Linked DNA regions of Homo sapiens: regions 1 and 2 are each linked to region 3. Evidence: promoter capture Hi-C in human tissues and cell types (Jung and others, 2019). All regions are on one chromosome and are shown on one strand. The core of a region is centred on a gene start or on the middle of the fragment in contact, and the rest is flanking DNA. Distances in the headings are between cores, read along the strand shown. Region 1 overlaps NFATC1 (nuclear factor of activated T cells 1). Region 2 overlaps ATP9B (ATPase phospholipid transporting 9B (putative)). Region 3 holds the start of CTDP1 (CTD phosphatase subunit 1).

What was found. Contacts are between HindIII fragments. The study calls those that stand out against the background at their distance.
Region 1: a contact is called between a fragment that was not itself captured here and the fragment with the promoter of CTDP1 in region 3, in 3 of the 25 tissues and cell types used here (dorsolateral prefrontal cortex, mesendoderm cells and spleen).
Region 2: a contact is called between a fragment that was not itself captured here and the fragment with the promoter of CTDP1 in region 3, in 4 of the 25 tissues and cell types used here (H1 embryonic stem cells, dorsolateral prefrontal cortex, lymphoblastoid cells and 1 more).

What each region holds. Positions count from the first base shown.
Region 1 is chr18:79,405,217-79,407,916 of GRCh38, reverse strand. All of the region lies in intron 1 of NFATC1 (nuclear factor of activated T cells 1), which reads right to left. Among named protein-coding and RNA genes, the nearest start is that of NFATC1, 11 kb to the right of the region's middle. RefSeq lists a silencer at 336-497 and enhancers at 520-1,113, 2,304-2,700. The HindIII fragment of the contact is 7,440 bases long and covers 1-2,700 here.
Region 2 is chr18:79,357,353-79,360,052 of GRCh38, reverse strand. It overlaps ATP9B (ATPase phospholipid transporting 9B (putative)), which reads right to left. Exons shown (of 30, transcript NM_198531.5): 26 at 591-699. Among named protein-coding and RNA genes, the nearest start is that of NFATC1, 37 kb to the left of the region's middle. The HindIII fragment of the contact is 5,046 bases long and covers 1-2,700 here.
Region 3 is chr18:79,678,383-79,681,082 of GRCh38, reverse strand. It overlaps CTDP1 (CTD phosphatase subunit 1), which reads right to left and starts at 1,280. Exons shown (of 13, transcript NM_004715.5): 1 at 822-1,280. The coding sequence starts at 1,135. It overlaps CTDP1-DT (CTDP1 divergent transcript), which reads left to right and starts at 1,338. Exons shown (of 5, transcript NR_136643.1): 1 at 1,338-1,689. RefSeq lists enhancers at 1,139-1,647, 1,648-2,155. The HindIII fragment of the contact is 29,025 bases long and covers 1-2,700 here.

The DNA of each region.
Region 1 (2,700 bases), core at 169-2,668, 270 kb after region 3:
GGATGTCTTCGTATGGGAAGGGCCCCTCCGCTGAGGCTGAGCGCCTTGGGGATGGTGCTAGCCAGGCCCCAGTCCCGCCTTCCCCATCGTAAAGAAATGCCCTCAAGAGGACGGGAGCCACGCAGTCTCCTGCACCGGAGAGAGAACAGTAATGTCAATAAATCAAGGAGGTGGCCAGGCGCGGTGGCTCACGCCTATAATCCCAGCACTTTGGGAGGCCGAGGTGGGCGGATCATCTGAGGTCAGAAGTTCAAGACCAATCTGGGCAACATGATGAAACCCTATCTCTACAAAAAATACAAGTAGCCAGGCATGGTGGCGCACGCCTGTAGTCCCAGCTACTTGGGAGGCTGAGGCAGCAGGATTGCTTGAGCCCAGGAGGCAGAGGTTGCAGTGAGCTGAGATCACTCCAGCCTGCACTCCAGCCTGGGCGACACAGCAAGACCCTGTCAAATCAATAAATCAATAAATCAATAAGGAGGTCTTTCTTTCCCCAGAGCCACAGGCAGGGACTGGGGTGGAGCTGGAGCTGGGCATCCTGACGCCAATTCCAGCCTCCAGCCTGGCCTCTGGTCAGGACACACACACCATCCCCAGGATCTGCCCCAGCTGCAAGACGCCAGCTCTGGGACTGACCACCCATGTTCACTGGCATCCACTGTGCCCCCCGCCCCCAGGCTCCATGCTCACTGGATGCTTCAGGCAAACACCAGGCCCCAACGCTAAAACTTCTGTGACCAACTTTCTAAAAATGAGCCTGGAAAGCAGCTTCCGGGAGAAGGTGAGGTTTCCGAGGAGAATCTGAAGTCCTCTGATCTGCTGGTGATACCTGGGGGGCTCTGGGCCAGGCAAACTGTAGCCCTCTGAGAGCTCCGCCTGGGCGTCACGGTGGCCCCTCCGTGGCCCGTGCAAAGCCCCTGAGCCGGCTGCATCAGACCCGCTGGACAACAGGCCACACAGGCAGGTCGCCCTGTGCCCCACGCCCCACACGCCTGGGTGACCGTGCCAGGCCAGCCCTGACGTCTGCCCCGCATGGAGCGCTGCGGAAGACCCGCGGAGCCGTGGCTGGCTCTGCGGCTGGGGGTCTCGGGGGAAGCACAGGGACGCAGTCCAACGGTGGACAGAAGGAAGGCGCGGTGGGGGACCCACGAGGGGGTTTTGTCGAGCGCAGGCCTGCGGCTCCTGGGGGGTTCCCGTTGAGGTGCCACGCCGAGCCACCTGTTCATTACTCTGCATTCTCACCAAAAGTTGTCCAAAAGATATTCCTTAGCCAAAAACGCCACATTACATACACCGGCCCAGGAACTCACACCCACACTTACTGCTGGGCCCGCTTATTTGTCTAGAAGCCCTCTCGCCTGTTGGAGCAGAAACAACATTATGTTAGGAACCAGCTTCCATCTCACACCAGTCATCAACTCCAGGAGACCCGAAAGCACAGCAGCGGAACTGAGGGAACACGATGGCAGCGTGGATCCGATCACGGGGGCCCAGCCTCCCTCCCACACCCCGACTTCCTCTCGGAGGCATCCGTGGCCTTCAACCGGCTCTTCAGGCCCCACCTGCTCCACACACTTCCCCTCACTGTCCAGACCTCAAAGGGGGCTTAACTGCAATTGATTCATGTACAGATTCCTACACTTCCTGTTTCCCAATCAAAAGAGTATTTATTTCCAAGACAGCTGATCCCACAGCTGAACTACCATTTGCTGGTAGAAAGGTAATTCTGAAGAATTTTTTAAAACCCTAGCAATTAACAGAGCAAGTCTTGGGGCCTCCCCACCATCCTCCCACAGGACTCAGCCCTGAACTGGCTGCTCAGCCAGTGACGGAGCCCAGAGCTGCGCCACACGGGGTACTAGAGCCAGATCACCGGAAGGTTCTAGATGAAACGGGGCAGGAAAGGGGAGGCGGACCTCACAGGTCTCTGTGTGCAAGTCCTCAGGGGCCGTAGCCCTTGACGTTTCTGTGACGGGGGCCCAGGCGTGAGGGGAAGTGAGGAAGAGGAGGAGACTCCGCCCACAGCGAGAGCAGGAAGTGCATGCAGAGGCCCACGGACGCCTGGGGCACCCGAGGGCCTTTATTTAAACTGAAGTATTGCAATAAAACCTGATTCGATGAGGCAAAGAAACACCATAAAGCTTTATTAAAAAACAAAAAGGGCTCACCTAAGCATGCGTTTTCCCTGATCAAACAAATGACAAAACGAAAGCTCAAATGCTTGAATTTCATTAGGATCCCTCGCCCAGGTCCTTGGAGGGCGGGTAGTGGATAAAGTTCCCTTGTTCCTCCTAGAAGAAGGGCAAGGTGTGGGGTCAAGCTGCCCCCAGAGGCCAAGCCCCACACGCCGGGGGCCACTGTCCTGGCTGTGAGCCCCTCCCTCCCAGCTCCCAATGAATTTGGTTTCATGACCCACCTAAACCGTATTCAAATCTGAGTTATTTAACTATTCAAAGGGATCATATTTACATGAAGGGAAAATATTCCCAGTAACTTTCTTGACGATTCTGAGGCGCTTGGGCTGATTCATGTCACGTCAGACACCACCACAGAGCTCGGTGACCCCACTCCCTGGCTGCCGTGTCGGAGGGCCTGGCTCTTTGCCAAGGAGGATTCACTAAATGACAGTGCAGGTGAGCAGGGAGACAGCTGGATTCTAAGCAATGATCGCGGAGAGCACATTCAAAATCCCTTAACGGA
Region 2 (2,700 bases), core at 25-2,524, 320 kb after region 3:
TTCTCAGAGTTTCAGGTGACTGAAGTTTTCTGGGGTGGATTTTTTTCTTGGTGACATCACTGCAAAAATAGTCTATGGACCCTAGGGACAGACACATGTTATCACTTTTCAGGGATAATTCTGAAATCCACAACTACTGACAAACTTGGAAATACACAGGAAACATGCAGCCCATGGGTTCCCCAGCTTTGGAATGCTATTTCTGCAGCAGGTGCAGTGACGCTGTCCGGGGGAGCCTTTCTACAGAAATTACACAGTGAGATCTTCTCTGACATTTGGTGAGCTCACTTCACAAAAGTTCCACAAATGGTTAGAATATCTTTTACAATTCTAATTGTATGTATGATATTAGAGCTTTATTGCAAACATTTGAGAAATTTTTTTCCCTGAGATGTTTTTCCCCTTTTGAAGTTTAACTCAAAGAGAAAATGCCAACAACAATTAGGAGACATAAAAAACATCTTCAAGGACAGAGAATCGTTTTTCACAAAATGCCTGGAAATGCCTCCTGACTGGCCTGTTTCTCACTCGTGTAAAATGCTAGATGTGGGTGCTAGTCGTGAGGCAGACAGCTTGCCTGAGGCCCGTACCTTGGTGAGGTCCTTGTACAGCTCCGGGTAGAGCATCGCCATCTCTGGCTTCACGTCCTGGTCCAGCACTAAGGAGAACACTGGGAACATGGTGTATATGGTGGCATACCTGCAAGACCAAGAGCGGAGTGCAATGGGCGTGAGAAACTTCTACCACACAGCTAGAAACAGACCTCTGGATTAGAGGTCACAGCTTCAAAAACACCAAAAAATACTCCACAAAAACCAACAAAGTAAGTTGGCAACCAAGTAAGATGATTGCGGAGACTGAGTATTTATCTCAGAGCACAGTAGCATGTTCTATAAGTCACAAATGCTTACGGGTAGAAGAATGATTTTTAAAAATGTTTACCTTTCTATGTTGAGATCATTGTAGACTCACATGCAGTTGTCAGGAATAGCACCGAGATCTTATGTGATCTTTACCCAGTTCTCCCAATGGTAACATCTTAGATAACTGTAGTGTGAACCTCACCACCAGCATCCACACGGACACCTCCAGACCCAGAGCACCCCTCACACAGGGTCCCTCACACAGACACCTCCAGACCCACAGCACCCCTCACACAGAGTCCCTCACACAGACACCTCCAGACCCAGGGCACCCCTCACACAGACACCTCCAGACCCAGAGCACCCCTCACACAGGGTCCCTCACACGGACACCTCCAGACCCAGGACACCCCTCACACAGACACCTCCAGACCCAGAGCATCCCTCACACAGGGTCCCTCACACGGACACCTCCAGACCCAGGGCACCCCTCACACAGACACCTCCAGACCCAGAGCACCCCTCACACAGGGTCCCTCACACGGACACCTCCAGACCCAGGGCACCCCTCACACAGACACCTCCAGACCCAGAGCATCCCTCACACAGGGTCCCTCACACAGACACCTCCAGACCCAGAGCATCCCTCACACAGGGTCCCTCACACGGACACCTCCAGACCCAGGACACCCCTCACACAGACATCTCCAGACCCAGAGCACCCCTCACACAGGGTCCCTCACACGGACACCTCCAGACCCAGAGCACCCCTCACACAGACACCTCCAGACCCAGGGCACCCCTCACACAGGGTCCCTCACACGGACACCTCCAGACCCAGGGCACCCCTCACACAGACACCTCCAGACCCAGGGCACCCCTCACACAGGGTCCCTCACACGGACACCTCCAGACCCAGGGCACCCCTCACACAGACACCTCCAGACCCAGAGCACCCCTCACACAGGGTCCCTCACACGGACACCTCCAGACCCAGGGCACCCCTCACACAGACACCTCCAGACCCAGAGCATCCCTCACATAGGGTCCCTCACACGGACACCTCCAGACCCAGGGCACCCCTCACACAGACACCTCCAGACCCAGGGCACCCCTCACACAGGGTCCCTCACACGGACACCTCCAGACCCAGGGCACCCCTCACACAGACACCTCCAGACCCAGAGCATCCCTCACACAGGGTCCCTCACACGGACACCTCCAGACCCAGAGCATCCCTCACACAGGGTCCCTCACACGGACACCTCCAGACCCAGGACACCCCTCACACAGACACCTCCAGACCCAGAGCACCCCTCACACAGGGTCCCTCACACGGACACCTCCAGACCCAGGGCACCCCTCACACAGACACCTCCAGACCCAGAGCACCCCTCACACAGGGTCCCTCACACAGACACCTCCAGACCCAGAGCATCCCTCACACAGGGTCCCTCACACGGACACCTCCAGACCCAGGACACCCCTCACACAGACACCTCCAGACCCAGAGCACCCCTCACACAGGGTCCCTCACACAGACACCTCCAGACCCAGGGCACCCCTCACACAGACACCTCCAGACCCAGAGCATCCCTCACACAGGGTCCCTCACACGGACACCTCCAGACCCAGGACACCCCTCACACAGACACCTCCAGACCCAGGGCACCCCTCACACAGGGTCCCTCACACGGACACCTCCAGACCCAGGGCACCCCTCACACAGACACCTCCAGACCCAGAGCATCCCTCACACAGGGTCCCTCACACAGACACCTCCAGACCCAGGACACCCCTCACACAGGGTCCCTCACACGGACACCTCCAGACCCAG
Region 3 (2,700 bases), core at 31-2,530:
TCCCCAGAAGGAGCGGCACCTTTCCCAGAGGGAGCTCACGCCCGGCCCACTGCGGGCTGGAGTGTCCACCTCTCCCTGGAGTTTCTGTTCTCACAATCAAAACTACCAGAGCCAGGCGCACACGCGTGTCCACTTGCCCGCCCATCCCAGAACACAAGGGTAGATTCAAACATGGCTGGACACTTCGGTGCTACGGAAACATATCCCCTTCTGGGGTCAGAGCACAGCTACTGAGAGCTGTGGAGTCTGTCACAACGCCCACGTCACCCTGAAGCAGCCTGCGACAATGCCCACTGTGGTCAACCACGGGGCTACTGCCTTCGCTGCAGGCCTGGGTTCCGCCCGTTCCTTAGCCACGAAACAGAACTGCACCAGGTTTTACAACTGCGTTTCACAAAGTTTACAAAAATTTAAAGATGTGCACACACCCAACAGTTTATATTTCAATAACAGGTCTGGAGCCTGCCTGATGACTCTTGTGCTCACAGCCACCCATGAGTTTTCCTAAGTCACAAAGGTGGAGCTAAAGGAAGGGGCGGGGACTATCACTGCAGAAAGAAAGAAACAAACATAGCTTTTCCAAACAGTAACTTCGTGTCGCTACGCAGGACCCTTTCCTTTTATCTCAAAATGCTCCCCGTTGGTAAAACCACAGGTGGTGACTATCCAGTTTTAGGGGAGAAGCGCAGTGCCTGCGTCCCGCTTTATCGCTCCCTCACCAGGGGCGCCCCTGCCCACCGCGGACGCAGCAGCCCGGGGGTCCTCCAGGATCCCTCCCCGGAGCCGCCCGCCCTCGGCCCCGCCCGGCTCAGCACACTCACCCTGGGGCGACCACCTGGCCCGGCTGCGCGCACAGCTCCCGCACCACGCCCGCGCGCTCCGACCTCAGCCTGCGTTCCGGCCGCGCGGGGCGCACGCAGCCCCCGGAGGCTACACGGGACTGAGAGGCCCCGGAGGACTGCGCGGAGGCGGCGGCCTCGAACACGGCCAGCACCGAGCCGATGCGCACGGCCGCGCCCGCCGCCACCCTCCACTCCAGCAGGCGCAGCGGCGCGGGCCCCGGGCAGCGCACCTCGGCCACAGCCGCCGTCGGGGCGCCCTCGGCAGGAACGCGACCCGCGGCCGGCACCTCCATCGCGGACAGAGGGCGGGCGGGCGGTCGGTACGGGGCCTGCGCTGCGCTCAGAGCGCAGCGCCTACCGCGGCGACACAACCCAGGCGGCGACGCTGTAGTTCCTCTCGGTACCGGCTTCCACCCGTCGCCTAGCCCGCGCCGACTTCCTGGAGGGCGCGTGACGTCACGCAAGGGCGCCGCGTACGTGCGTACGTGCGCGTGTAAATACGAGCGCCGCGCGGGGCCGGAGCCGGCTCCGTCCTGGGACCAACCCTGCGTGCCGGCCGTGAAGAACTGCGTTCCTGAGCCCTACCTACTTTTCCTCGGAGCGCCGGCACCGTGGAGCAGCGGCATGCAACGCGGGCCGCTGTCGCCCAGTCCCAGTGACGGTCTTGGCGCGCTCGGAACTACGTATCCCGGCGTGCACCGCGGACAGAGCATGGCGGGACTACGAGTCCCAGCGTTCAACGCAGGCCTGCGTGCCATTACCCCATCACGCGCTGAGACCCAGCATCCCGAGACTACGAGTTCCGGCATGCACCGCGAGCCGCTCTCCTCCACTCCCATCGCGCACTGTGAGTCGCAACGTCGCGGGACTACGGGTCCCGGCATGCCTTGCGCGCCGCGGGCCCAGAGACGTGAGGCTGTCGGCGTCCTGGTGGCCCCGCCTCGTGTCCCCCCCCGGACCCCACGCCGCGGGAGCTTGGGGGTTGCGGTCTTCTCTTCCTCCGACCTCACCTTCGATGCGGAAGCGCAGGGGCAGGTGCGCCGCCCTCGGCCCGCGCAGGCGGTGGGCCCGTCTGGGGCAAGGCGCCCGGAAGCGCCTGGTTGGTTCAGAAAATCGGACCGCAGCGGGAGGGCGGGCACCGGCGCGTGGTCTCAGTGGCCCCAGGCGAACCCTGATGAGCAGCAGCCGCAAGTGGCTTACTAAAGGAGCCACTTTCTACGTTTGTCTGGAATTTACGTGAATTAAGCTGGCGGGCGGGCGGCCAGGCCTGTAGTCTCAGCACTTTGGGAGGCTCAGCACTTCGGGAGGCTGTGGCGGGCGGATCACCTGAGCCTGGGAGTTGGAGACCAGCCTGCGCAACGTAGCAAGACCCTATCTCTAAAACAGATTCATTAATACTTAGCCAGGCGCGGTGGCTGAGGTCCCAGCTACTCGGCAGGCCCAGGCTGGCCTGAGCCAGACCGCTCTGGACTGTTTTAATTTTTTCAGCCTTAATACCTGCCAGAATTTTTTTTTTACTATGTATCTTTGTCCTTACGTATATAAATTTTATATACAATTGAGATTATCCTGTATTTGCTTTTCCCCCCTCACTTTTATATGGTGACTTTTCTCATGTTAGGCTGAATACTAACATTTTGGAAACTGTCGGCCTGAAAACGAGCGGAGACACAGTTTCTCTAAGTAGAGAGTTTATTTGGGCCACACTTGAGCACAAATTCAAGGCGCCCTGAATGTGTACTCCGATTAGCAGTTAACAGTGGATTTTAAAGGCAAAAAAGGGGGCCAGGGAGTGGACTAATAGGAACTTGTTTGTGAGGAATTCTCACTGGTTTACAGAAATAACATTGATTAGTGA